Regions from separate parts of the Homo sapiens genome. Here all the other regions are linked to region 2. The links are contacts of gene promoters, found by promoter capture Hi-C in blood cells and fetal thymus (Javierre and others, 2016). All regions are on one chromosome and are shown on one strand. Each heading gives the region's core, a stretch centred on a gene start or on the middle of the fragment in contact. The rest is flanking DNA. Distances are from core to core; before and after follow the strand shown.

Region 1 (3,667 bases), core at 729-3,228, 720 kb before region 2:
GTGGTCATGGGCCCCAGGTCAATACATAAAGTCTAGGTGAGAACCAAAGCAACAACAAAATATTAAATATAAAATGGGCTGGATAACTAGAGGGAGCCAAGGTATAATGCCAGGCACATTAGGATGGAGAAAATGTAAAATACAAAGAGGGCGGAAAGGTACAAAAGGAAGGCACAACTAAATATTTCCCTGGGGAGCCTTTCCGGGGACTTTTCCTGCAGCAGCCGCATCAGGACAAATGAGGTGCCAGCTGAAAAACTGGTGGATAAAATAATGACCATAAAACTGCTTCAAAAACTGTGAAACCATGCGCACAAGGGAGGAATCGCTCAGAGGCTACATACCACAGATGAGGTTGAGTGCTTACTATGCGTAAGGCACTTTATAAGCTCCCAGTACACAGTGGTTAAAAACATAAAATGTCCTGCTTCACTGAGTTAACATTATAGTGAGGCAAACTCATGTAACTGCCAATTATTTAGAAGTGTGATAACTTCACCTAAAAATACTGCCAGCTTCTTTTTAGAAATCAGAAGATCTAGGCCGGGCGCAGGGGCTCACGCCTGTAATTCCAGCACTTCGGGAGGTCAAGGCAGGCTGATCACTTGAGCTCAGGAGTTTCAGACCAGCCTGGGCAACATAGTGAGACCCTGTCTCTGAAAAAAATATATAAAAATTAGCCGGGTAGTGGCATGTGTCTGCAGTCCCAGCTGCAGTGGGCTATGATTGCACCACTGCACTCTAGCCTGTTTTTTGAGAAGGAGTCTCGCTCTGTTGCCCAGGCTAGAGTGCAGTAGCGCGATCTCGGCTCACTGCAAGCTCCACCTCCCGGGTTCACGCTATTCTCCTGCCTCAGCCTCCAGAGTAGCTGGGACTACAGGCGCCCACCACCACGCCCAGCTAATTTTTTGTATTTTTAGTAGAGACAGGGTTTCGCCATGTTAGCCAGGATGGTCTCGATCTCCTGACCTTGTGATCTGCCCACCTCGGCCTCCCTAAGTGCTGCAATTACAGGCGTGAGCCACCGCGCCAAGCCCTCAAAATAATATCATCAGAAGATCCAGCAGGGCTTGGTCTGTAATCCTGCATGGCAACAAGAGACTGGAACTAGTGGCTGCTTCCTTTAGACAGGAAATGTGGCCTTCAGCTCACCACACTCCCCACCATCCCCTATTGTCTTACACTCTGCCCTACTTCACTCTATGCTATCTGCCTGAGCTCTGCAGGCTTTCAAGTTTGTGATTCCTGCTCCCTCATGTCCCCAAGCTGTTTGTGATACTTGCCTCTCCTAAAACCACCAAATAGCCCAAGGAGAATATAAAGAACCCTACTCTTATTTGAATCTGAATCCTGGGTTGCCATTTAATCTGATGTAACCTTGGGCAGTGACATCACCTTGCTCAAGTCTCAATGCCCTAAACTCTAAAATGAAGGTAATCATATCTGGTTTATAGGATTTTTGTGAGGACTAGGCTTTGCCTAATTAGCTCTTCTCCTTTGGATCTCACCCCTAGCACTGCTTCTTCAAAAAAACCTTTCCAGACCTCCCAAATAGATCAAATCCCTCTGACAGACATAGGTTCTCAGCACCATGTCTCTTCTTGGTGGCACCCATCTCCCTTAGAATTGTACTTGAGTTTGTGGATTACTTATTTAATTCCTGCCTCTCCCACCAGACTGAAAACTCAATAATGGGAGGGGAATCCTGCTTTTGCTCCCTACCTACCACCATATCTGGCATTAAATAGGTCCTCAATAAGTATTATTTAAAAAGAAAAATGAGCTGTGTAAGGATGCTGATACAACCCCTGGCATATACGAGGTACCCCACTGATTCTCTCTGCCCCACCCTCAGGTAATGCCTGTTATGTACATGGTACCCTAAGCTTCTGGGGCTAAAATTGGCTCAATTTTTAACATTTGGGAAACAAGTGATTAGGTTGTGTTTTCTAATAAGCTATCTACCTCCCAGAATAAGGATTTTTGTTTTGCCCACTGACATACATGTAGCCGAACTGGTGTCCAGGCCACTCGTCGCCTGAAAGCCAAAAACTCAAAAGACAAGCTTTGGTGAAAGCAAAGTTAGCTTTATTCGAGAAACCAGCAACCTGCAAAAGGCAGTGCACTAGCATTCAAAGACCACCTTTCTCAGTTGTGCCTCTAGATCCAGGGATTTTAAGGAAAATTAGGAGAAATAATGATCAAAACATTCTTGTGGGCCAGGAGCGGTGGCTCATACTTGTAACCCCAGCAATTTGGGAGGCCGAGGCAGGTGGATCACTTGAGGTCAGGAGTTCGAGACCATCCTGGCCAACATAGTCAAACATCATCTCTACTAAAAATACAAAAATTAGCCAGGTGCGGTGGCACACGCCTGTAGTCCCAGCTACTCAGGAGGCAGAGGCTACAGCGAACCAACATCACTGCACTCCAGCCTGGGAGACAGACCAAGACTGTCTCAAAAAACAAAACAAAGAAACATTCTTGTGAATCATGCGCAGTCTCAGATGGGCAGTTAGTCATTACTTTCTTGGTCAATGCCTTGTGACTAGACTGTGCAGGGGCCATCAGCCTGTTCCCAAAGCTGCGGGTCTGTGTGTTTTATCTGTTGAAGAAGGTCCTGTTTTTTTCTGTGGCTGTTTTTAGTGAATAGTTTACAAACTCAGGCAAAACAATAATTATACTCAAGCAAGCAAGCTTTTCTCTAACATAGAGTCAGTACTGCTGTTACCCGTTGCAGGGCCTAGGGGACTTAGCTGGACGCCTACCTGGCTTTTGTTACCCAATGCAATGCCTCCATGACATAGCTAAATTCCTACTCAGATTTAACTCTGCTTATTTTTAGAAAACAGGTTGTCTGTGGTCATAGGTTCCTTCTTAGCTTACTCGACCTCTGAAGAACCTCTAGCTTCATTCTAATCCAACTTCAGTACTAAATGACATTCCCACTGGTTGCCATGACAGTTGACAATCACCGTGATGACCCGAAGAGACCAAAAAAAGGACAAAAAAAGGGGCAGCTCCTTGATTCCAGGAAAATCTACCTCCCTTCCCAAGAAAAAACATGAATATTCCTCCTCTTGTTCTTAATTTTTATTTTTTTTAGAGACAGGGTCTTACCATGTTGCCCAAGCTGGTCTCCAATTCCTGGGCTCAAGCTTTCCTTCTGCCTCCTCGCCTTGCTCTTAATGCCCAGCCCCTTCATTAAGGACACCTGACGACTAAGCTCTGATTCTTTTGTTTTTTTTTTCTGTTTTGTTTTGTTTTTGACACAGAGTCTCACTTTGTCAACCAAGCTGGAGTGCAGTGGCACAATCTCAGCTCATTGCAACCTCCGCCTCCCGGGTTCAAGTTGAGTCTCATGCCTCAGCCTCCCAATCAGCTAGAATCACAGGCGTGTGCCACCATGCCCAGCTAATTTTTGTATTTTTAGTAGAGACGGGGTTTCGCCATGTTGGCCAGGCTGGTCTTAAACTTCTGACCTCAAGCGATCCACCTGCCTTGGCCTCCCAAAATGCTGGGATTATAGGCGTGAGCCACCACGACCAGCCTAAACTCTTGATTTTTTTAATCCTGCCCAAATTCCTATCTAAGGGATCTGGGGAGTCATGACCTACAAACCATAAATTCTCATCAGATGGGTTTTATTTAATCCTATATATGATGA
Region 2 (3,644 bases), core at 382-2,881:
TTTGTTTTTTTTTTTGCTGATTGAACAAACAAGCTTTGCACAGGCTCTCCTGCCCTCCTGATGGAAAATAAGTTAGAAAACGCCCTAAGACAAGCACTCAAAGAGTCTAGATAGCTATCCCCCTCTCCTCCCTCCCTCATTTTAAAAAACAGCGAGAAGAATAATCAGGCTTCCACGTTTTGGGTTAGCCTGTTACAGATGACCCAAGTATGCAGAAATAAAATAAACCAGTGAAACTCCAAGGCCAACTGCTGCAAACCTTGGCTATCAATGAAAGTTGTATCCAAAGTACTAGAACGAACAGTCCCCACTAGAGACATAATGGCGGTTAGCTTCCTGCCAGGCACCTTCTAGCTAGTATCTCTCTCCAGCCACCAAATATCTTAAGACCAAGCGGCCCTTACCTTCTTTCGTCTGCGCATTGGTGATCTGCAGGTCGCAGTCGGCAGCTTTCAGCTTCTCTCTCCCCATAATCTGCTTCTTTAAGTCGCAGAGGGAGATGTGGAGCCCATCAAAGGTGACGGTATCATAGTTGAGTTTAGAGGAAAATTTATAATGCACACAGGACATGGTGCCAAGGGATTCCTAAGGTTCAGCGAGGAGACGTGGACACTCTCAATATACGTATATTTATAAACTTTAAGAGCAAAATATGTACACACAAAACACTCAAAGACACCGAAGGACCCTAAGGCCTCAGATTAAATACCCCCCAACCACAAGCAGGGGTTCGTCAGAACAATAATCCAGAGACCCCCCGATACTCAGAATCACTTCATGGGGGAGGAGGAGGACGAGGACGGGGAAGAGGGGAAATCGAGAATCCGCCAACGGGCACAATGTCACCCGGCTGGGTCCCCCTCGCTCATGCTAAGGGGCCGGCAGAGACGGGGGGATTGGCGGTGCAGTCAGTAGCGGTCAGTCCACACGTTAAGAGTCCGAGCGACCCCACGGGGTCAGGGGTCCATAGCGCGGCCGCACCTCCCGGCGGGTCTCTCTCTCCGTGGATTGGGGTGACCCAGGCCCCGGGAGAAGGTTGAGGGGAGAGGGCCTAGGCCCGGAGTCCACGAGCGGCCTCACGCCTCCTCCTGGCTTCCGGACGACCGGCGTCAGCTTCCCCAGGCCCAGGCCCAGGCCCCCACCGCACACAAACCCCTGGCGCCTGCTCCCCGGAGGCCACGAGCGGCCCCACGGCCTAGGCCGAAAACGCGCGGTCGGCGGAGGAGAGGCCTTCCCGCAGGCCGCCCCCGGCTCCGCCTCCCCCCGCCGCCGCCGCCGCCTCGGACACAAAGCCGGCGCTAGGCCTCGGCGAGGCCTCGGAGCACTTCCTCACCACCCCGGGCCCCAGCCGGCGGCCGGGTGGCTTCGGCGGACCCCGGGGACACCGCCGAGGCTCCCTGACGCTTCTTCTCGCCGGATCCTCCGCGCTTCGCTCGCCTTTCGTTTCCGTCGCCTTGAGGCCCGGAACCGCGAGAACACGCCCGCAAGCTGCTGGGCAGCGGCTAGGGCTTCTCCGGCTCCCTTTTTGTGTTGGCCCCCTGCCGCTCGGGGGCTCTCACCGAGCGGCGGCGACACCTCCAAGCCAGGTACTATGGCGGACGCGGCCTGGCTTCGGACGAGCGCCCCACTGCGGGGTCTCTTAAGCAGGGATTGCACGGGCGGCGCGCGCGAGGCGGGGCTGGCGTGCGCGGATAGGCGGGCCGAGAGGCGGGGCGGCTGACGTCACAAAGCGCACGGCCCGCCCACGTGACCCCGCGCTTTGTGACTCCAAAGCGCGGAAACTGAAAGAGCAGGGACAACGGGAAGAACCATCTGCTTCAAAAGGGAGGGGGGTTGCGCGTCAGGAGGACCGGCTCACAGGGAGGCTCGGTGGGGAGAGCTCGCCTTGCAGGGGCTGCGTGCAGTTTCCACTGCAAAGTGGCTTGCCTAGGGGTGGCCGGCTAACTCCCCCTTCCCCACAGGCCCCGTCAGCTCCTCTAAGCCTCCCAATTTAAGTGAGCATTATGGTTGCTACGCAGAAAACTATGGTTGCTATGCAAGCGCTCCCTAGCTGCTGCTTCCAATAAACTGGCTACCCTATACTCTTGACAAGTGGAAATCGTGGAGCAGCCGCTGCCAAGAACTGATAACAGCCACCAGCACCATACAGATTTATTGAGCTCTTACTATGTGCTAGGCACAGGGCTGATCGCATAACAACATTGCCAGGCTCAGCAGCCACGTTGTCTGGGTTGGATCCCTGGCTGTGGGGGCTCTAGATTTAACCCCTCTGTGCCTGGGTCTCCTTGGCTGTAAAATGCCATTAAAAATAGTACTTGGTTTACTTGGATTAAATAAATGCACATAAATCCATAGTCTAAGACCATGCCGGTGCATTGACGTGGCTCAATGCACCGAAATATTAATAGCTGTAGCTCAATAAATGTCAATTTAACAACAAAAACCCTACGTGGTCAACATGACATTATTTCCGATTTATAGATGATGGAACTGAAGCTAGCAATCATGTACTTTCTGAATTTGCAGAAGGGGATGCCTGCTCAGTGGCAGGGTCCCGATTCCATTCCTAAGCGCAAATGCCAGGAACAGTGACAAGAACCCCCTCAGTAGATTGGAATTTTTTTTTTCCTTTGGGCATGGGGACGTTATTACATTCAGAAAAAATCATAATATAATAAAATTACATTCATAAACGATAGTTATTATCGTTTACAATCCATGTTCCTCATCCTCTCTGAATTTTACAGGCTAGGCTCAGTGAATTTAGGCAACTGAGAATAAGATCCTATAGCCGAGAAGTAGCAGAGTTTCCCAGGGACTTCCTGCAAGCACACTCCAAATTCTTACTGAACTTGATTTAAAATTAATCACCATCCTGCCAGAAAAGCCTTCCTAAGGCCATCTTTTTAAAATAAGATGGCGATCTTTCTCTATCCCTTTAGTCTTTTCTTCCTAGCACTTGCAGATAGTTGACAGTTACACATTTACTTTTTAATTATCTATCTCCCCCAACCCCTACCTTCGGCTGACAATAGGAATCTTATCTTTATATTTGTTTTTGCTGTATCCTCAGCTCTTAGAACATAGTAGGTGCTCAATAAATACGTGCTGAATAACTGGATACATTTTTACGTGATCCATAGAGATGTCGTGGCAATAAAATTTTGGCCGTAGTCAAGGGCAGCTCTAGAGATACCATTACAATTTAACTCAACCACACACATCAGTACTTTTCATATATAACAAGTTTCTTCCACTTTTACCTCTTTGTTATTTCACCAAAAACTTATTGCTGCCAGGTCCTCTTCAGGTTGGTTGCTTTTTTCTTAAAAGCCTCTGTGTGAATGAAAGGGCGAGGGCTATCTCTAGTGAAAGAAAAACTCGACGAGAAAATTGCAAGCCGTCATGGAATTCACTCCGAAGCGGTGAATCTGTTCCTTTTGCCCGTCTGTGGCCGACCCCTTTATATACTGAATGCCTAATTTAATCAGCGTGGTGCATCATGGGATCTCAAAGTGGGCCACACCCTCAGGATATGACAGAGTGGATCATAACCTAATCTGCAGGGGGGGATGTCCTTGGAAAGAATGTTGTCTATTGGTCCAACCGTTCTCATCTGCCAAAAACTTTGTTCAACCTTGATA
Region 3 (3,874 bases), core at 315-2,814, 950 kb after region 2:
GCCTCATGGGTAGTTGTGTACGAACATAGAATATACCCTCACCAGGGGTCTTGCTTTGTTGCCCAGGTTGGTCTGGAACTCCTGGGCTCAAGCGATCCTTCCACTTTGGCCTCCCAAAGTGTTGGGATTACAGGCGTGAGCCACCACACCTGGCATCGTACCATTTCTTTTTTTTTTTTTTTTTTTTTTTCTTTTTGGAGACAGAGTCTCACCCTGCCGCCCAGGCTGGAGTGTAGAGCCATGATCTCAGTTCACTGCAACCTCTGCCTCCTAGGTTCAAGTGATCCTCCCACTTCAGCCTCCTGATTAGCTGGGATTATAGGCACACGCCACGATGCCCGGCTAATTTTTGGACTTTCAGTAGAGATGGAGGTTTCACTGTGTTGGGCAGGCTGGTCTTAAACTCCTGACCTCAAGAGATCCGCCCACCTTGGCCTCCCAAAGTGCTGGGATTACAGGCGTGAGCCACCACACCTGGCCTCGTACCATTTCTTGATAAGCACACAGCCTCTGTTAGATCCCTCCAACTGAAATTTCTTTTCTGCCATTGCCATATTACCTCATTTCTTCTCCCCCTTTCTCTTTATTCCTTTCTTCTCCATTTTATTTGTGACTTGGAAACCTATTTGAGTCATTGTTAAGTAGGCCGGTCATGTGCCTGTATAAAAGGTCTCCTTAACCCATGTATAATACGAAAGGAGACTAGACATTTAGACAAAGAAACATGCTCTAAAACTCTTGAAAGTACTCAGAAAGGCTCGTTAGAATATCTATCATACTCTCCAACTCATCTCTTTAGTTTGCTGATTAAACCTGATTTTTTTTTTTTTTTTCTTGAGACGGAATCTCACTCTGTCACCCATGCTGGAGTGTAAATGGCATGATCTTGGCTCACTGCAACCTCCGACTCCCAAGTTCAAGCGATTCTTCTGCTTCAGCCTCCTGAGTAGATGGGATTACAGGCACATGTTACCACGCCCAGCTAACTTATATTTTTGGTAGAGACGGGGTTTCTCCATGTTGGTCAGGCTAGTGTCGAACTCCTGACCTCGTGATCCGCCTGCTTCGGCTTCCCAAAGTGTGGCAATTACAGGTGTGAGCCACTGCGCCCAGCCTAAACCTGATTTTAATAACTGACTTCTTTTTCTTTTCTTTTTTGAGACAGAGTCTCGCTCTGTGGCCCAAGGTGGAGTGCAGTGGCACAGTCTCGGCTCACTGCAACCTCTGTCTGGGTTCAAGCAATTCTCATGCCTCAGCTACCTGAATAGCTGGGATTACAGGCACACACCACCACGCCCAGCTAATTTTTGTATTTTTAGTAGAGACGAGGCTTCACCATGTTGGCCAGGCTGGTCTCGAACTCCTGGCCTCAAGTGATTGGCTCACCTCGGCCTCCCAAAGTGCTGGGATTACAGGTGTGAGACACACATCGGCCCAATACCTGTTCTTTATGCAAGATGAATGTTTCTTCTACAGAGGTTATACTGGTTTGGTTCTCTGGGCAGTATTTATTATGATTTTTCATGGACCTTTGTGAGTTTCAGGGACCTGAGCCCTAACAAGCAGCCCCACTTTCTATAGGGAAATGCCTGAAGAACGCCAAGCCTCGGACTTAAAATCAACTTCAGGAGGTAAACAAACCAATTTAGATTAGGGATTTCTTTCTTTTTCTTTTTTTTGAGACGGAGTCTTGCTTTGTCGCCCAGGCTGGAATGCAATGGCGCAGGCTCGGCTCACTGCAACCTCTCCTCCCACATTCAAGCGATTCTCCTTCCTCAGTCTCCTGAGTAGCTGGGATTACAGGCGCCCACCACCACGCCTGGCTAATTTTTGTATTTTTAGTAGAGACGGGGTTTCACCATGTTGGCCAGGCTGGTCTCGAACTCCTGACCTCAGGTGATCTGCTCACCGTGGCCTCCCAAAGTGTTGTGATTATAGGCGTGAGCCACCACGACTAGCCAGATTAGGGATTTCAGTAGTGAGCAAAACTGCCAGATACCCTGTTTTGTTTTCTCTGATTCTGCGTCGTACCTTCCACAGCATTAAACCCCCTGACCTGTAATTGCAGCTCATTCCACATTTGTTGAATGAAATCTGGTCAATACCCTAATACCTAAACATTGAGCCGACTAATACCAGAGATACGTGAGGTATTGCTCTAACATGGCACAGGCCAGAAGGGCTCATGGTTTGGCTGGTGGCCATGAGGCAAGCCTCGCTGGAAGGGAAACAGATTGGAATGTAGTGACTGTAAGCTCCCTCATCCCCTCTTTGGGTGGGAGGCCAGCTTCCTTTGTCCTGGCTGAGATCAGGGAGATAACTGCTGGAACCAAACTAGACCTTTCTGGTGTATGGTCCTCAATTTGAATTGCCTTTGGGTTTACCATGACAGCTCTTTCCTTTTGGGTTATTTTGACTTGGGTCAGCCTATTAAAGGTGGCAGCACCCTGTAGAGGCCTCGGGATGCTGAAGATGCCATGAGAAGACACAGGCATTCTGCAGACGCTAGACAATTTTAGTGGCAGTTAGTGTCGCAGAGCAGTATGAATGTCCAGAGCCTGAGGGTTGAAGCCAGGAGGCAGAGGGGCCGGTCCTGACTCCCAGGAAGGAGGCCTGAGATGCTGCTGAACTGTTGGGGCTTCTGCGATTACCCAGTCCTGCAACTTAGTGTGTCCTGGTGGCCACAATGAGAATCAGATGCTGTGGGTTCTCTAAAGCCCCGAAAGTTCTGTGAAAGTTACCTATAGGCTTGTGCATTGATTTAGAGGTATTTTCCATTCAATGACAGTGTTTCCTTCCTGCCGTCGCTCTAGGTTCCTGGTAGAGTTACACAGTTGTGCCGCCAGTATAGCGACATGCCTCCTTTGACGTTAGAGGGCATCCAGGACCGTGTTCTTTACGTATTGAAACTCTATGACAAGATTGACCCAGAGAAGGTAACTGATGGTGGTTTGAATTTTTTTCTTTAAATATAGAGTATTTAATTACATGCTAGAAAATGCAAAGGGAAAGATACTCAGTAAAAATCTCCCTGGCTCCCAGACACCCAGGCCCATTCTGGGAGATAGCCAGCGCTACCAGTTTCATGTATGTTTCCAAAGGTACTCAATGCATATGTTAAAGAAGTATACACACGTGTGTATATTATATGTATGTATCTCTCACCCTTTTTAAAAAACACAACTGGCCGGGCACTGTGGCTCATGCCTGTAATCCCAGCACTTTGGGAGGCCGAGGCGGGCGGATCACCTGAGGTCGGGAATTCAAGACCAGCCTGACTAACATGTAGAAACTTCATCTCTACTAAAAATACAAAATTAGCCGGGCATGGTGGCACATACCTGTAATCCCAGCTACTCGGGAGGCTGAGGCAGCAGAATCACTTGAACCCGGGAGGTGGAGGTTGCAGTGAGCCGAGATAGCGTGATTGCAGTCCAGCCTAGGCAACAAGAGTGAAACTCCATCTCAAAAATAATAATAAATAATAAAAACACAAGTGGGGCCGGGCGTGGTAGCTCACGCCTGTAATCCCAGCACTTTGGGAGGCCGAGGCGAGTGGATCATGAGGTCAGGAAATGAAGAGCAGCCTGGCCAAGATGGTGAAACCCCATCTCTACTAAAAATACACAAATTAGACAGGCGTGGTGGCAGACACCTGTAATCCCAGCCACTCGGGAGGATGAGGCAGAGAATTGCTTGAACCCGGGAGGGAGAGGGTGCAGTGAGCCGAGATCATGCCACTGCACACTGCAGCCTGGATGACAGGGTGAAACTCCATCTAACAACGAAAAAAAATTGAATCTGTTGTGTAGGTAAGGCAGTTTTTTTTTTGATTTGGGTTTTTGAAGAATCATTCCTGGTGATCCTGAGGTCT
Region 4 (3,593 bases), core at 1,094-3,593, 920 kb after region 2:
TTTTTGTTTTTGCTTTTTTGAGAGAGGGTCTCAGTCTGTTGCCCATGCTGGAGTACAGTGGCATGACTATGGCTCACTGAAGTCTCAACCTCTCAGGCTCAAGCAGTCCTCCCACCTCAGCCTCCTGAGTAGCAGGACTACAGATGCATGCCACCAGCCTTGACTAATTAAAAAAAAAAAAATTTTTTTTTTTTTAATTTTTTTTTGTAGAGACAGGGTCTTCCCATGTTGCCTAGACTGGTCGTGAACTCCTCAATGCAAGTGATCCTCCCGCCTCAGCCTCCCAAAGTGCTGGGATTGTAGACATAAGCTGCCGCACCTGGCCTGCCTTGATTTTTAATTTAGTATTTGCTGCTTTGTGTTATTTATCCTCTCTCGTTTTTGAAGACAGGTACCATGTCTCATATCTATTCTTGGTGCCTGCCTTAGCTCCATGTTTAGGGTAGTTACTCAAAGGTGTATTAATCATATTGTCTGTCAAAAGCTGTTACTTATCTTTTGGGCTCTGTATAATTTTATACTTACATGTAGTATTTGTTCTTATTTAACTCCTGATTTGTTAGATGTCTCAAGTGATTCATGTTATACTCAAGTGTCAAGTGGCTTTTTTTGGAAACTATGCTGAAGGTCTAAATATTTCTTAAGCTTGGCCGGGCACGGTGGCTCACGCCTGTAATCCCAGCACTTTGGGAGGCCGAGGTGGGCAGATCACGATGAGGTCAGGAGATGGAGTCCATCCTGGCTAACACGGTAAAACCCCGTCTCTACTAAAAATACAAAAAATTCGCCAGGCGTGGTGGTGGGTGCCTGTAGTCCCAGCTACTCGGGAGGCTGAGGCAGGAGAATGGCATGAACCCGGGAGGTGGAGCTTGCAGTGAGCGGAGATCACGCCACTGCACTCCAGCCTGGGCGACAATGAGACTCCGTCTCAAAAAAAAAAAAAAATTTCTTAAGCTTAATGTTTACAATGAAGTCATATCAAAGAAACACGTTAAAACATTCTTAAACACTGAGGGGCCAGTGTGTAAGGAAGTCTTGCTGTCCATATTCACTGAGACATTTCATTTAATATCTTCCAAACATTCAGTAGGTATCTGGGTCTCTACTTATGTCCCATTCTCTGTGAGAGATGCAGAGATGAATCAGATATGAATCCTGGTCCCAGGGCCCCTATAATCTAGTAGGTAAATAAGATGCCTTTACCATCAAAGCCTACAATTTCAGTACAATCCTTTTTACAATTCACATAAGGTCAAAGTGATTTGGGATTTGAGGAAAGAACAATTACTAAATACAGACCATGTATGAAACTCTGTAGGACACCCATCTGGTGTCCCTGATAGGAGGAAAACTTTGCATATGCACATAAAAATTTAATTTTCCTTCTTCAGTTTTTTATACACAGTATCTGGCCCATAGAATTCTGTATTTGTTGAGTGAATACATGATACAGTATTGCCAGTAGTATATTGCATACCAAATGAGGTATATGGACAAAATTAAAGGAGAGGAGATGACTGTGGACTGCTGTAGTCTCAAGTGAGTTCATGCAGCTTGGAGGGGGTGGGATATAACTAGGCCCTAAGAAATGGATGGGAATTCGTCAGTAACAGGGATGGGAACTCTTCTGTAATGGGTGGCAGGGAGTTGGGGGAGCAGGGGTCATTGGAAAGCATAGCTTGAGCAAAGTCTAGAGTCAAGGAAATGCATATGTTCTTCAGGCAGAAAGATTTCAGGAAATGGAGCAATGAGTGATAATGTAAATATTGCACTGCTGGATTCATGAGAGTTATAAATACCACCGGGCGCGGTGGCTCACGCCTGTAATTCCAGCACTTTGGGAGGCCAAGGCGGGTAGATCACCTGAGGTCAGGAGTTTGAGACCAGCCTGGCCGACATGGTGTACCCCGTGTCTACTAAAAATACAAAAATTAGCTGGGTGTGGTGGCGCCTGCCTGTAATCCCTGCTACTCAGGAGGCTGAGGCAGGAGAATTGCTTGAACCTGGGAGGCAGAGGTTGCAGTGAGCCGAGGCTGTGCCATTGCACTCCAGCCTAGGCAACAAGAACAAAACTCCATCTCAAAAAAAAAAAGAACTTGGACTTTATGTTGTGGCTAATGGGAGCCAACTGAAAGTTTTTCATCAACAGAGTAACATGAACCAGGTGCAGTCTCTCACACCTGTAATCCCAGCACTTTGGGAGGCTGAGGTGGGAGGATTGCTTGAGCCCAGGAGTTCAAGACCAGCCTGGGCAATATAGTGAAACCCTGTCTCTACAAAAAATTAAAAAATTATTCAGGCATGGTGGCATGCAGCTGTAGTCCCAACTACTTGGGGCAGTGAGGTGGGAGGATCGCTTGAGCCTCAGAGGTCAAGGCTACGGTGAGTCATGATCACGCCACCACACTCCAGCTTGGGCAATGGAGCGAGACCCTAAGCTCCAAAAACAAAAAAATAGAGTATCATGACAAAGCAGTTATCAATGTCACAAATCCTCAATAAAGCTGGGGAGCAGGTCAGGTGCAGTGGCTCGTGCCTGTAATCCCAGCACTTTGGGAGGCCGAGGCAGGTGGATCACCTACGGTCAGGAGTTCAAGACCAGCCTGGCCAACCTGGTGAAACCCTGCCTCTACTAAAAATACAGAAATTAGCCAGGCATGGTGGTGGGTGCCTGTAATCCCAGCTACTTGGAAGGCTGAGGTGGAAGAATTGCTGGAACCTGGGAGGTGCAGATTGCAGTGAGCCAAGATGGCACCACTGCACTCAGCCTGGGTGACAGAGCGAGACTCCATCTCAAAAAAAAAAAAAAAAAAGGCCAGGCGCGGTGGCTCACGCCTGTAATCCCAGCACTTTGGGAGGCCGAGGCGGGCGGATCACGAGGTCAGGAGATCAAGACCATCCCGGCTAAAACGGTGAAACCCCGTCTCTACTAAAAATACAAAAAATTAGCCGGGCGTAGTGGCGGGCGCCTGTAGTCCCAGCTACTCGGGAGGCTGAGGCAGGAGAATGGCGTGAACCCGGGAGGCGGAGCTTGCAGTGAGCCGAGATCCCGCCACTGCACTCCAGCCTGGGCCACAGAGCGAGACTCCGTCTCAAAAAAAAAAAAAAAAAAAAAAAGCTGGGAAGTGATTCCAACAAACTTTATCTTTTTTCTTCTTTATATTCACCCCTCTCTTCCTACCCCACTTCAATCCTTCCTTCTATCCATTATTTTGGTCTAGTTGTAGTATAAATACATGTAATAGAGATATAATTGTAACTCTCTTTTAGGTGTAGTCTCTTGCCCTACAAAATTTGGTTTCCTGGCCGTTGTCTTCCATGGAAAATTTAGACATAACAAGAAGTGTCACAAAATCATGATACTGCTATACCATGTGCCTGATTTCAATACCAGGTTGAATGAGATGATGGAACCTTCCTCATGGAATTTGGAGAGATTTATCCCTAGGGGCATTGTAGATTTAATCTAAGGCTGAACTATCAAATGAAACTATTGGCAAAATTAACCCACAGTTCTACTTTTACCTAAATCTATGACTAAAGAAAACTAAGGAGCTCTTAGTTTTTTCCCTGGTCACCTCCTAAGACATGCT
Region 5 (3,957 bases), core at 1,117-3,616, 980 kb after region 2:
TCAAATTTCTCAAGACCAAGAAGCACAAGATGGACTCACTTTCTGCCTGCAGAGAGGCTCCTTCTTGTTCTCTTCGGCCTTTGCATCCTGCTGCGCAGCATCTTTGGGTGTGTTTACTGCTAAAACATCATTGATGGTGGAGCCAACCACCATGATCTTGGCCCCACTGGTCACTTTTATTTCTCTCAATGTTTTATCCTCGGGGACGAGTCCCTTATACATGACTTTCTGCATGGCAGGCGGGAGACCTTGGGAAAAGGTAGAAGGTGGACAGTGAAAGGAAGGAAGGACAGAAAAATGTATGGATACTACACAGCTCTTTGGTAACAGACCAAAAAGTGAATACTGCCTCCACCACCTATTAGCTTTGTGAACTTGGGAGATTTACAACCTCTGAACCTCAGTTTCTAGAACTGTAGAAGATTTATTAGAGTAAGTCCTTCTGTACAGACCTGTTTCAAGGATTAAGAGACCAATGCGGGGCATTTAGTACGGTGGCTAGCATTGAATAATTGTTCAGTAAGTACTAGCTCTCATTCTTTCCAAGTTGTTCCTCAGTCATCTAAATCATTCACATATTAAGTGAGAATCCACAGGCATCAGAGCTACAGAAGCCAATAGGGACAAAACTCCTGTTCTTAATGGAGATTACAAGGCTACATGTAGAAAGCTTTAAAAAAAAAAAAAAGTTCAAGGCCAGGAGTGATGGCTTATGCCTGTAATCCCAGCACTTCGGGAGGCCGAGGTGGGTGGATAAAATAAAAAAAACTAGCCCGGCGGGGTAGCGGGCACCTGTAATCCCAGCTACTCGGGAGGCTGAGGCAGGAGAATCGCTTGAACCTGGGAGGCGGAGGCTGCAGTGAGCCAAGATGGTGCCAGTACACTCCAGCCTGGGCAACAGAGCAAGACTCCGTCTCAAAAAAAAAAAAAAATAGGAAAAAGAAAAGAAATCTCAGATGGCAAAGAGCTATGAACAAGGTAAAATTAAGAAACAGAATCGACTGTGAAGAACCAGCATCAAAGTCAATAGCAGCGTTTCCTAAACTTCACTTAGAAGAATTACCTAAGATATTTGCTAAAAATAAATTCCTGGCTACATCCCAGACCCACTGAATCAGAATCTCCTGGGAAAGGGCCCAGAAGCTGTAAAACAAGCGCCTTAGGTGATTTTTTAATTAGAGATGTTAGAGCAACATCAATGAGAAACTGGGGCCTAAACGTCAGACTTCGGCTTTAATCCCAGCTCTGCAACTTACTAGCTCTATAAACTTGAGTCTCTTTCCCCAGCTGAGTAATGGGCATCCAAGTATCCTTCAGAAGACTGCTGTAAGGATGGGGGGACCTGATGCAAGGAAAGCCACCAGGTGCCTAGTAGGGTGCAAGGGCCATCAGGAGGCGGGGTGGGGAAGACTGGCTGTCAGCGCCACAGGAATTACCTGTAATCGAGTGGATCTTCTGTTTCAGCTCGGAGCCTGTGCTGTCCAGGGGGAACTTCACGTCATGCTTGGTCTTATTCCAGATGATCTTCAAGTCCACCAGCTCCCTGCCCGCGCCGCCGCCCGCGTCTTCGCCGTTGCTGACCGAGGCCTGGGCTGCGGGGTCCCCAGGGGGCTGGGCCGGGGCCGGCTGCAGGCTGCCTCGTGCGGCGCCGGAGTCCTCGGCCGCCGCCCCCGCCGCGGCTTCAGCCTCCAGGCAGTTGACGGGCCGCGCGGGAGCCTCAGTAGCCACAGTCTCGGCCTCCGTGTCCATGCCAGGTTCCTCCATGCCTGCAAGGGGGTTAGGGGGTGGGCGCTCGCCGCGGGCTGGGCTTGGGAACGGACGCTGTCCGGGCGCCGCCGGACCTCCGTTCCCGAGCCGCGGTTCTCCCTCCCGGGCCGGGCCGCATCCCCCAGAGGAGCGACCGCAACCTCAGCCCCGGCCCGGCGCCCGCCACCCCCGCCGCACTCACCATCCGGGGCCCCGGCCGCCGCCATGATGATTGTGTACAACACCCACCGCTCCCGCAGAGGCCGCTGGGAAGAGGCGAGCTGGCTGAGATTGGCCCCCGCAGCAGCCCCTAATCTCTCACAGCCCGGCCGGAAACAGGTGGAGGTTTCTATGGAGACCCGCCTCCTCCGCTCCCAGGTCCGGCCCCTGCCACGCTTTCGCTTTCCCAAGCTGAAGGGGGCGGGTCCGGGAAATAGCCCTTTCTCTGGCCTCTGCCCCCTGGTGGCGAGTGCGGCCGCAGCCGTCCAGGGGGGCGTGGGATTTCGCGCTAGGGGGCCTGTGACTTTAAGGGGCAAGGCTGCGCTGGCTGTGGCGGAGGCCGATTGGCTGGAAGCAGTCCCCGGAAGTGACGCAGGGAGAAGCCCACGTGTGCTATTCCATCCCACATGGCGGCGCTCCTGAGGAGACTGCTGCAGCGCGAGAGGCCTTCGGCGGCCTCTGGCCGCCCCGTAGGACGGCGCGAGGCCAACCTGGGCACTGATGCCGGGGTTGCGGTGCGAGTGCGGTTCGCTCCCAGCCCCACAGGTAACCCTGGCGGACGTGACGCTACAGGCCGAGGCCCCCTGTCCCGTCTCCGCCCCACGAATGTTCCCGAATGAATCCTTTCCGGTGGTGTCAGAGTGGGCGGGCGGAGGAGGGTTAAGGCAGCGCGAGCCCATTTTACAGAGGCGGAAACTGAGGTGCAGGAGCGGAAATAATTCAAATTGCCAGGAGTTTCTTGTGTTTTTTGTGCCATCCCATCTCTTTCGATCTTTTTTTCATGCATTCCATACATGTGCATTGATGACAACCTGTGTAACAGGTGTTGTAGACGCTGGGATACAGTGATCATTGAGAAAGGTAGGGGCCTTGCTCTGTGGAAGTCTGCATTCTAGTGGCTGCCGCAGACACTTATAAAAAATAAGTGTAATTTTAGAGTCACATGTGCCATGCGGGAAGTGAAACAGGATAGGAGACTGGGGATTAAGAAGGACGCTCCAGAAGGCTTTACTGAGCAGGTAACATTTGAGCTGAGATCCAAATGACAAGAAGGAGCACGCTATGTGAAGCCTATAGAAGGAACCTTCTGGAGGCCAGGCGCGGTGGCTCACGCTTGTAATCCCAGCACTTTGGGAGGCAGAGGTGGGTGCATCACTTGAGGTCAAGTGGATCACTTGAGAGCCGTCTGACCAACATGGTGAAGCCCTGTCTCTACTAAAAATACAAAATTATCTGGGCATGGTGGCGCATGCCTGTAATCCCAGCTACTTGGGAGGCTGAGGCAGGAGAATCGCTTGAACGCAGGAGGTGGAGATTGCGGTGAGCCAAGATCGCGCCATTGCACTCCAGCCTGGGCAACAAGAGCGAAACTGTGTCTCAAAAACAAAAAAGAAGGAACCTTCTGGGTAGAGGAAATCGCAGGTACCAAGGCACTGTGCTAGTGCTGTTGGGAGCTTAGCAAGCTAGAGGGTGACAGAGGCCCATTGTATAGCCTGTTGGAGATCTCGTCAGGGCCTTTTGGTTCCCACCAGTAAGGCTACCTTCTACGTTCTCTACACGGAGTATGCCTCTCATCCCAAATCCCAGGATGAACATACAAAGATCTTTGTAGTAAAATCCCAGCTATACATGACAGGATCTTTCTGGCAGGCAGTATAGCCTAGAGCAGTGCCTTTCAAACCATCTGTTGTGGAAGTGCTGGTTTTAAATTTCCAATCAATTGTGTATCAATATTTGCACAAAATTAATATAATGACCAGAAAAATAAAATTTTGAAAACATCCAAAATACAAACCAATCTCATTTTATTTGGGTTAGCAGAGGTAAAATCATTCTGCCAGATTGCTATGTAAGTTTCGCCTGGCCAATATGGCAAAACCTTGTCTCTACTAAAATACAAAAATTAGCCGGGCATGTGGCCCAGGCCTGTAATCCCAGCTACTCAGGAGGCTGAAAATCGTTTGAACCCAGGAGAAAGAGGTTGCAGTGAGC
Region 6 (3,687 bases), core at 501-3,000, 750 kb after region 2:
AAGCCTGGAAAACATAGTGAGACCTCGTCTCTATAAAAATAAGAAAAAAAATTAGCCAGGTGTGGTGGCATGTGCCTGTAGTCCCAGCTGCTTGGCAGGCTGAGGCAAGAGGATTGCTTGAGCCCAAGAGGTGGAGTCTATAGTGAGCCATGATCACGCCACTACATTCCAGCCTGGGCAACAGAGCAAGACTCTGTCTCCAAAAATAAAATTTAAAAATAAAAAATAAAACTTATTGGTTGTCTAAAATGGGTTAGGCTGGGCATGCTGGCCTATACCTGTAATCCCAGCACTTTGGGAGGCCGAGGATCACTTGAGGACAGGAGTTTAAGACCAGCCTGGGAAATACACAAAGACCCTCATCTGTACAAAAAGAAAAAAAAAATAGTCAAGTATGGTAGCACACATCACAGTCCTAGCTACTCAGGAGGCTGAGGCAGGAGGATCACTTGAGTCCAGGAATTCGAGGCTACAGTGAGCTACAGGCATGCCCCCACCACACCTGGCTAATTTTTGTATTTTCTTTGCAGAGACAAGGTTTCACCATGTTGCCCAGGCTGGTCTCAAACTCCTGGGCTCAAGCAATCTGGCTACCTCAGCCTCCCAAAGTACTGGGATTACAGGCATAAGCCACCACACTTAGCTTTGAAGAGAGAAAGGGCAGGTTGGGTTTTGTGTCACACAAGGTCTTATTATACAATAGTCATGCATATTCAGCAGGTTTGGGAGAACGCTATACATATTTATGAGAGGAGCCAAATGCATGAGCAATGGGTAAACATTGGCAGCAGAAATAGGGCCCCACATTTGCTTCATGGGCAATCATTAAGCACCTACTGTGTCTCGGGTAGATTCTGGTTATTCAGGCAAAGTGCAGGAAGGGGAATCTGCAGTGGCATGAGGCACTGCACCCAGCCTATATGCTTTTTAACATTCTTAATCACACACACACGGGACGTAGCATACATCCCATGTTCACTTCGGGGCAGGTTTTAGCATTAAAATGAGGTGGAATTTGACTCGTTACGTCAAAAGGTGACCTACAGGACACAAAGAAAGCTTGTGTGCAGCCTCTATAAGCCGCTGAAACTGGCTTAAGGTCTGCAGTTCCATATAAGAAAACAATGTTTATAAGGCTGGTCCCTGTCCAGAGTTGTAGCGGTCTGGGCCGTAAATTCACCTGATATAGCTCCTATGGTTAGGGAGTTTAGCAAGGCTGTGATTTTACTTTTTTCTTTTTCTTTTTCTTTTTTGAGACAGGGTCTCGCTCTGTCACCCAGGCTGGAGAGCAGTGGTGCAATCATGGCTCACTGCAGCCTCCACCTCCCAGGCTTAAGCAATCCTCTCACAGCCTCCTGAGTAGCTGGGCATACAGGTATGCCCACATCCAACTAATTTTTGCATTTTTTGTAGAAATGAGATTTTGCCATGTTGCCGAGGCTGGTCTCAAACTCCTGGACTCAAGCAATCTGCCCTCCTAGGTATGCCAAAGTGCTGGGATTACAGGCATGAGCCACAGCGCCCAGCTGGTTTTTCTTATAGCTATAGGAATTTAGAAATTTGCCATGCCTGCCAGGACCTGAACCCTTGACCTTAGGTAGGTAACTTTTGTTTCCTTAACCTTGGGCTTGTCTTAGTTGATAAAGGGGTGTCTGTTTCAGTCTCTGAGCACATTACACATAGGTCTCTCAGATCACACTACACTAGGTACTTTACATTATTAACTAATCTTTTTTTATTTTTTATTTTTTTCTTGAGACAGGGTCTGGCTGTGTCACCCAGGCTGGAGTGCAGTGGTGTGATCCCTGTTCCCTGCAACCTCCGCCTCCTGGGCTCAAGCCATCCTCCCACCTCAGCCTCCCAAGTAGCTGGGACTATAGGCATGTGCCACCATGCCTGGCTAATTTTTTGTATTTTTTTGCAGAGATGGGGTTTCACCATGTTGTCCAGGCTGGTCTTAAACTCCTGAGCTCAAGTGATCCACCTGCCTTGGCCTCCCAAACTGCTAGGATTACAGGGGTGAGCCACTGTGCCCAGCCCTACTCACCTTCTTAAACCCTGTGAGGTTAATACCACCATGATCCTGTTTTACAAACAATGAAACTGAGGTTAAGTAATTTACCCAAGGTGATATAACTAGTAAGTGGTGGAGGTAGAATTTGAACCAAGACATTCTGATTCTAAAGTCCTTGATTTTAGCCACTGTGCTGCAGTAAAGTCTGGGCCACTCATAGGGCCTCTCCTTAAAGATGCACTCCAGTTCCTAGCCATTCTCAGGCTTCTCCCTCTATTCAGTCCCTCCTTCTTCAGGCCTTCTCAGTATACATCTCCATCCCTCCTCTCTGGAAAACTTTCAGAGCAAGAAACAGAGCCTGCAACTGATCTGACCTTACACACTGAAGAAATGTTATTATCTCACATAATAAAATGGGGAAGCTTCATGGTTGATTGATTTGACAGCTCAATTACATTAGTAAAGGCCCACTTCTTTGTGGATTTCCACTGTTATCCTTGACCTAAATCAGCCCCCGTCATGGGCACAAGATGGCTGCCCAAGCTCCAGCCAGCATGTTCTCAAATAACCAGAGACAGTAAAGGGGCTGTTTCTTCCCTCTTTCATAAAGGGGCTGTTTCTTCCCTCTTTCAATCAATCTCCTTTCAATCATTAAGGAAGACCTTTGCCAGAAACTCCAATACACTCCCCACTCGTGTCTCATTGACCAGAATTATTTCATGTGCCCATGCTGAGCCTATCACTAAGCAAGGGAAATAGGAAAACATGGTTGGTTTAGACCAATTACTATTAACTTCTTGAGGTCAGAGACCGCTTCCTGTAAAGAACATGACCACGTGGAGGACAGTAGACAGCAAAAAATAAATGGAGGTTTTATTGGGAAAGAGGAAGAGGAAACCAAGTTTTTGCCACATTCTAACCACAGAAGTGGACCTCACAGTGGGATTCATCCTTCTTCCTCCCCAAATACAAGCTCCAGAGGACCAGCATTAATTATCAGAAATAGTACTGTCTGTCTCAGCAGTTCTCAAACAATAATGTGCATAAGAATCACCCTAGAAGTTTGGTGAAAGGGCAGATCTCTGAGAATGATGGAACTTGAGCCTAAATCCATCTATTTTAACACCTGGGCTTTTAACCATTGTCTTATTGAGCTCTTACCCTGTGTCAAGCACTGCTCTAGGAGCACTCCCTTAATGCCTACAGCAGAATTAGGCCTAAGAAGTTCCCCTTCATAGGTCCCCTGTGACCCACCTTATCCTCCAGAATGTTCCTTCCAGCCAAAAAAAAAAAAAAGTTGTGCCCACCCCAATTTTCCAGCCCCTTGGACAGAGTTCTGATCTTTGAAATTTTCATCAAAGTGAGACAGGAATAATACAGGGTGGTCACAGGAGAACAGAAAATTCCAGGCAGCACTTTCACATGGCTAGGCAAAAGGCAGATGTTGAAATAGCTGCAGAAGCTAGGGTCTGATAAAACCCTGAAAAACCAGGGTGTGGACCATGCTGGCTAAGACCAATTGAACTTAATTGGCACTGGATTTGACCTAGGTTTCACCTAGAACCTTATGTTTTTGTTTGTTTGTTTGTTTTGTTGTTGTTTTGAGATGGAGTTTCACTCTTGTCACTCAGGCTGGAGTGCAATGGCGTGATCTCAGCTTACTGCAGCCTCTG
Region 7 (3,773 bases), core at 1,111-3,610, 900 kb after region 2:
GTTTCTACCTTCAAATATTTCATTACCTGTTACACTTTGTGCCCAGTAGTTTAATGCACACTATATCATAAAATAATGTTGGTTCTAGGTACCACTGTATTTTGTTCCTGGCATAAAAGAAAAAAGGTTTTCTGTTGCCTCTTATTGAACCTTTTTGCATTCAAGAGATCCAACTTAGGCTGGGTGCAGTGGCTCACACCTATAATCCCAGCACTTTGGGAGGCCGAGGTGGGTGGATCACTTGAGGGCAGGAGTTCAAGACCAGCCTGGCCAACATGATGAAACCCTGTCTCTACTAAAAATACAAAATATTAGCCGGGCTTGGTGGCAGCTGCCTGTAATCCCAGCTACTCGGGAGGCTGAGGCAGGAGAACTGGTTGAACCTGGGAGACGGAGGTTGCAGCGACCTGAGATGGGGCCACTGCACTCCAGCCTGGGCGACAGAGTGAGACTGTCTCAAAAAAAACCGAAACAAAAAAAAAACAAAAAGGAGATCCAATTTACAAAATAAAAAATTTAAAAACAAGAGAATTAAAAATGTAAACAATAAATAGGAGATATGGCAACATTTTATCTGCCCTGCTGTGGTGACAATTAGCAGAACGCAAGCTAAGGTTTGCAGCCTGGAGCTGGCTTTGTCCCTTACCTTGCCATTGAGAACGATGTTCTGGCTTCCACACAACACTGACTGGCGACTGACTTTGTTCCCAGATGCCTAAAAGAAAACAACGGAAAACCGGGGAAAGCAAACTTAATAGGTTTCTGGACTACAGGTTTCCATCAAGAAAGCTCCCATTTGAGAGAAAAAAACATAAAGTGGGGTGCTGTCCACAATGGAGTGAGTCCAGGATATCAAAAAAGCAATGATGGATTAGGAAACTATGGCTGAGTATGGTGGCTCATGCCTGTAATCTCAGCACTTTGAGAGGCTGAGGCAGACGGATCCCTTGAGGACAGGAGCTCAAGACCAGCCTAGGCAACATAGTGAGACCCCTTCTCAACAAAAAAAAAATTTTTTAATTAGCCGGGCATGGTGGCGCGTGTCTGTAGTCCCAGCTCCTCAGAAGGCTGAGGCTAGAGGATCGCTTGAGCCTGGAAGGCCGAGGCTGCAATGAGCTGTGATTGTGCCACTGCACTCCAGCCTGGGCAACAGAGTGAGAACCTGTCTCAAAAAATAAAAACACAAAGGAAACTAGGGACTCAAGGAATAAACTCATAATTTGAATGTCTATAGCTTGGTGGCATCAGACAGACGCGGATTCAAATCCCACTTCCACGCGTGGGCTTTACGGCCTTAAAACGAGGATAATGACTATGAGTATCAGAGTTGTGAGAAAGCAAAGAAAACCAAAATAACGATAGTAACGTTAATTGACCACTTGCCCTGTTTCCAAGATTTTACAAACATATCATGTACTGATCATAAAGAACCAAATCGGCAGGGTGCGGTGGCTCACGCCTGTAATGCCAGCACTTTGGGAGGCCGAGGCGGGTCGATCACCTGAGGTCAAGAGTTAGGGACCTGCCTGGCCAACACGGTGAAACCCCGTCTCTACCAAAAAATACAAAAATTAGCCGGGCGTGGTGGCGGGCGCCTGTAATCCCAGCTACTCGAGACGCTGAGGCAGGAGAATCGCTTGAACCCGGGAGGCGGAGGTTGCAGTGAGCAGAGATCGCGCCGCGGCCCTCAGGACTGGGCGACAGAGTCTCCGCCCCCCAACCCCCTTCCTCAAAAAAAAAGAACCGAATCGTTTTTAGCGCAAGTTAACAGATACAAAAGGCAGTGTAAAAGGGCCCGAAGTCCGAGCTGTAATTCGTATGAACAGGATGGGACTTGTCCTATCCTCCCGAAGGCACTTTACCCCTATGAGAAAATCAGGAATAAATACAAAAGGCCTCAACTGGCCAAGCGCGGAGTAAACAGCAAAGCCAGACGGTACACGGGGCATCGCTAGATAATCCGGGACTAATGGCCAAAGGGACAGGGGTTGGTGGGGTAGGGGCAGGTTGGGAACGCCGACCAGGCCTCAAAGGGACGCAGGGTTGGAAAGAGGAGGATACATATCTGGACCCGCGCACCGTCTCGATGTACTCAGACTTGTTGTAGAGCAGCTCGCCCAACTCCATGGCCGCCGCCTCCTTCCCTCAGCCCCGGATCCTGTCAGAGTCAGTCGGTCAGTCTTTCAGAGATTCCGGCTACTTCCGGCCGCTCCTCCACTTCCGCTCCAGGTGGCCCACTGGGACTCATCGACAGCGCGGCTCTCCTTTAGGCGGCCTCGCTCCACTGCTCGGCCGTCTACGGCTGCGCGTGCGCAGGCCGAATGGTGGATTTAATTGGCCGGAGTTTAGGGCGCGCTTGGCCCGCGTGGGTCAGCTGATCGCGCACTGAGGGTGCGATCCCGGGCTCCCCATTCCTTCCTGGGGCGCCTCCCCGGCCCAGGGCCAACTGGGTCCCGGTGTCGGCAGGCCTGGGGTCGGCGACGGCTGCTCTTTTCGTTCTGTCGCCTGCCCGATGGACGAGCCTCCCGGGAAGCCCCTCAGCTGTGAGGAGAAGGAAAAGGTGCCGGGGGTGCGGGAAGGGCGGACGCAGGACTCTGACCCCGCTTTCCCAGGGTTTTAGGCCTGGCTTTGTGTCCTCGGCAGTCCGAGGGCAGCAGTATCATCTGACCACCCCCTCCTCTTAGGGCTGAGGGGGCACAGAAAATGAAAATGTGGAAATAGCGTGGTGCTCACGTGGTGGCGTTTAAAGAACAAATTTCATTACAGTAGCAGCGCATTAATACAATGTGTAACAGTTTGTAGATAAAGCTGTATCGACACCCTTGCTCCTCCCCCCTCCCACACCCTCAATCTTTACTTCTCCCCCCGGACGGCCTCAAGTAAATCTTTTAAGTCTGGTACTTCCAGGTCCTTTCGTGTGTTAATGTGGGTGGTGGAGGAGGGGCGTATCCCTAACCACCAAAAAGGAATCCTATGTATATTTTTTGGAGAAGGGAATGTTCATAAATGGTATGATCTGAATGGTTCTGCAGGTTCCGTTTAGCTTTCCTGTCAGGACATGTTTATCTACCTTGCTTTCTTTTTTAAGTTCTAGACAGTATGTTGTAGTTTGGAAGTGCCCTCGTTTTGTTTCTTTTTTCTTCCTTTTCTGTTTTTCTTCTTTTTTGAGACAGAGTCTCACTCTGCCACCCATGCTGGGGTGCAGTGGCGCGATCTCGGCTCACTGCAACCTCCGCTTCCTGGGATCAAGCGACTCTCCTGCCTCAGCCTCCCGAGTAGCTGGGATTACACGAACCCGCCACTGCACCTGGCCTTGGAAGTGCCCTTGCTTCTTTAGACTGTACTTTACTGATAGACTTTTAGGATGTTTCCAGCTTGTGCTGATGTTATTCTTATCCTGGCTTACCTTCTGGTGGAGGTGAGAAAGATCATTTATAAGTAAACAAGATAATCCCCAGACATTGATAAGATTGGTGGGAGGCCAGTCTCCCTGGCTCACGCCTGTAATCCCCGCACTTTGGGAGGCCGAGATGGGCAGATCGCTTGAGCTCAGAGTTTGAGACCAGCCTAGGCAACGTAGTGAAACCCCGTCTCTACTAAAAATACAAAAATTAGCCGGGTGTGGTGACGCCAGCCTGTAGTCCCAGAGGCTCAGGCCTCAGAGGCTGATGCACGAGAATCGCTTGAACCAGGGGACGCTGAGGTTGCAGGGAGCTGCCGAGATCGCGCCACTGCACGCCAGGCTGGACGACAGAGTGAGACTGTCTCTCAAA

Evidence for each region. The method cuts DNA at HindIII sites, captures the fragments that hold promoters and counts their contacts. A CHiCAGO score of 5 or more calls a contact.
Region 1: a fragment that was not itself captured here is called in contact with the fragment with the promoter of RBBP6 in region 2 in 4 of 17 cell types (activated CD4 T cells, total CD8 T cells, fetal thymus and 1 more); the score reaches 7.4 in activated CD4 T cells.
Region 3: a contact is called between a fragment that was not itself captured here and the fragment with the promoter of RBBP6 in region 2, in 1 of 17 cell types (neutrophils). The highest score is 5.8, in neutrophils.
Region 4: a contact is called between a fragment that was not itself captured here and the fragment with the promoter of RBBP6 in region 2, in 1 of 17 cell types (neutrophils). The highest score is 5.8, in neutrophils.
Region 5: the fragment with the promoter of EARS2 here is called in contact with the fragment with the promoter of RBBP6 in region 2 in 3 of 17 cell types (M0 macrophages, fetal thymus and neutrophils); the score reaches 6.0 in M0 macrophages.
Region 6: a contact is called between a fragment that was not itself captured here and the fragment with the promoter of RBBP6 in region 2, in 1 of 17 cell types (M1 macrophages). The highest score is 5.7, in M1 macrophages.
Region 7: a contact is called between the fragment with the promoter of PALB2 here and the fragment with the promoter of RBBP6 in region 2, in 1 of 17 cell types (neutrophils). The highest score is 6.3, in neutrophils.

What each region holds. Positions count from the first base shown.
Region 1 is chr16:25,259,466-25,263,132 of GRCh38, reverse strand. It overlaps ZKSCAN2-DT (ZKSCAN2 divergent transcript), which reads right to left. Exons shown (of 1, transcript NR_170220.1): 1 at 2,067-3,667. Among named protein-coding and RNA genes, the nearest start is that of ZKSCAN2, 3.5 kb to the right of the region's middle. The HindIII fragment of the contact is 179 bases long and covers 1,889-2,067 here.
Region 2 is chr16:24,537,553-24,541,196 of GRCh38, reverse strand. It overlaps RBBP6 (RB binding protein 6, ubiquitin ligase), which reads right to left and starts at 1,631. Exons shown (of 18, transcript NM_006910.5): 1 at 405-1,631. The coding sequence starts at 570. RefSeq lists enhancers at 1-973, 974-1,968, 3,395-3,644 and silencers at 1,185-1,364, 1,635-1,684. The HindIII fragment of the contact is 3,955 bases long and covers 36-3,644 here.
Region 3 is chr16:23,586,259-23,590,132 of GRCh38, reverse strand. It overlaps NDUFAB1 (NADH:ubiquinone oxidoreductase subunit AB1), which reads left to right. Exons shown (of 5, transcript NM_005003.3): 2 at 2,814-2,936. Among named protein-coding and RNA genes, the nearest start is that of NDUFAB1, 8.1 kb to the left of the region's middle. The HindIII fragment of the contact is 6,808 bases long and covers 1-3,874 here.
Region 4 is chr16:23,614,170-23,617,762 of GRCh38, reverse strand. The region is part of intron 10 of PALB2 (partner and localizer of BRCA2); the gene reads left to right. Among named protein-coding and RNA genes, the nearest start is that of NDUFAB1, 20 kb to the right of the region's middle. The HindIII fragment of the contact is 2,773 bases long and covers 957-3,593 here.
Region 5 is chr16:23,555,759-23,559,715 of GRCh38, reverse strand. EARS2 (glutamyl-tRNA synthetase 2, mitochondrial) reads left to right here and starts at 2,366. Exons shown (of 9, transcript NM_001083614.2): 1 at 2,366-2,511. The coding sequence starts at 2,373. UBFD1 (ubiquitin family domain containing 1) reads right to left here and starts at 1,989. Exons shown (of 7, transcript NM_019116.3): 1 at 1,949-1,989; 2 at 1,437-1,766; 3 at 40-248. The coding sequence starts at 1,973. RefSeq lists silencers at 1,567-1,746, 1,847-1,936 and enhancers at 1,104-1,747, 2,007-2,206, 1,748-2,392, 2,397-2,676, 3,037-3,681. The HindIII fragment of the contact is 14,256 bases long and covers 673-3,957 here.
Region 6 is chr16:23,788,020-23,791,706 of GRCh38, reverse strand. No RefSeq gene overlaps it. Among named protein-coding and RNA genes, the nearest start is that of CHP2, 35 kb to the right of the region's middle. The HindIII fragment of the contact is 1,377 bases long and covers 1,062-2,438 here.
Region 7 is chr16:23,639,897-23,643,669 of GRCh38, reverse strand. PALB2 (partner and localizer of BRCA2) reads left to right here and starts at 2,360. Exons shown (of 13, transcript NM_024675.4): 1 at 2,360-2,560. The coding sequence starts at 2,513. DCTN5 (dynactin subunit 5) reads right to left here and starts at 2,204. Exons shown (of 6, transcript NM_032486.4): 1 at 2,080-2,204; 2 at 647-715. The coding sequence starts at 2,127. RefSeq lists an enhancer at 1,142-1,931 and a silencer at 3,059-3,293. The HindIII fragment of the contact is 17,437 bases long and covers 1-3,773 here.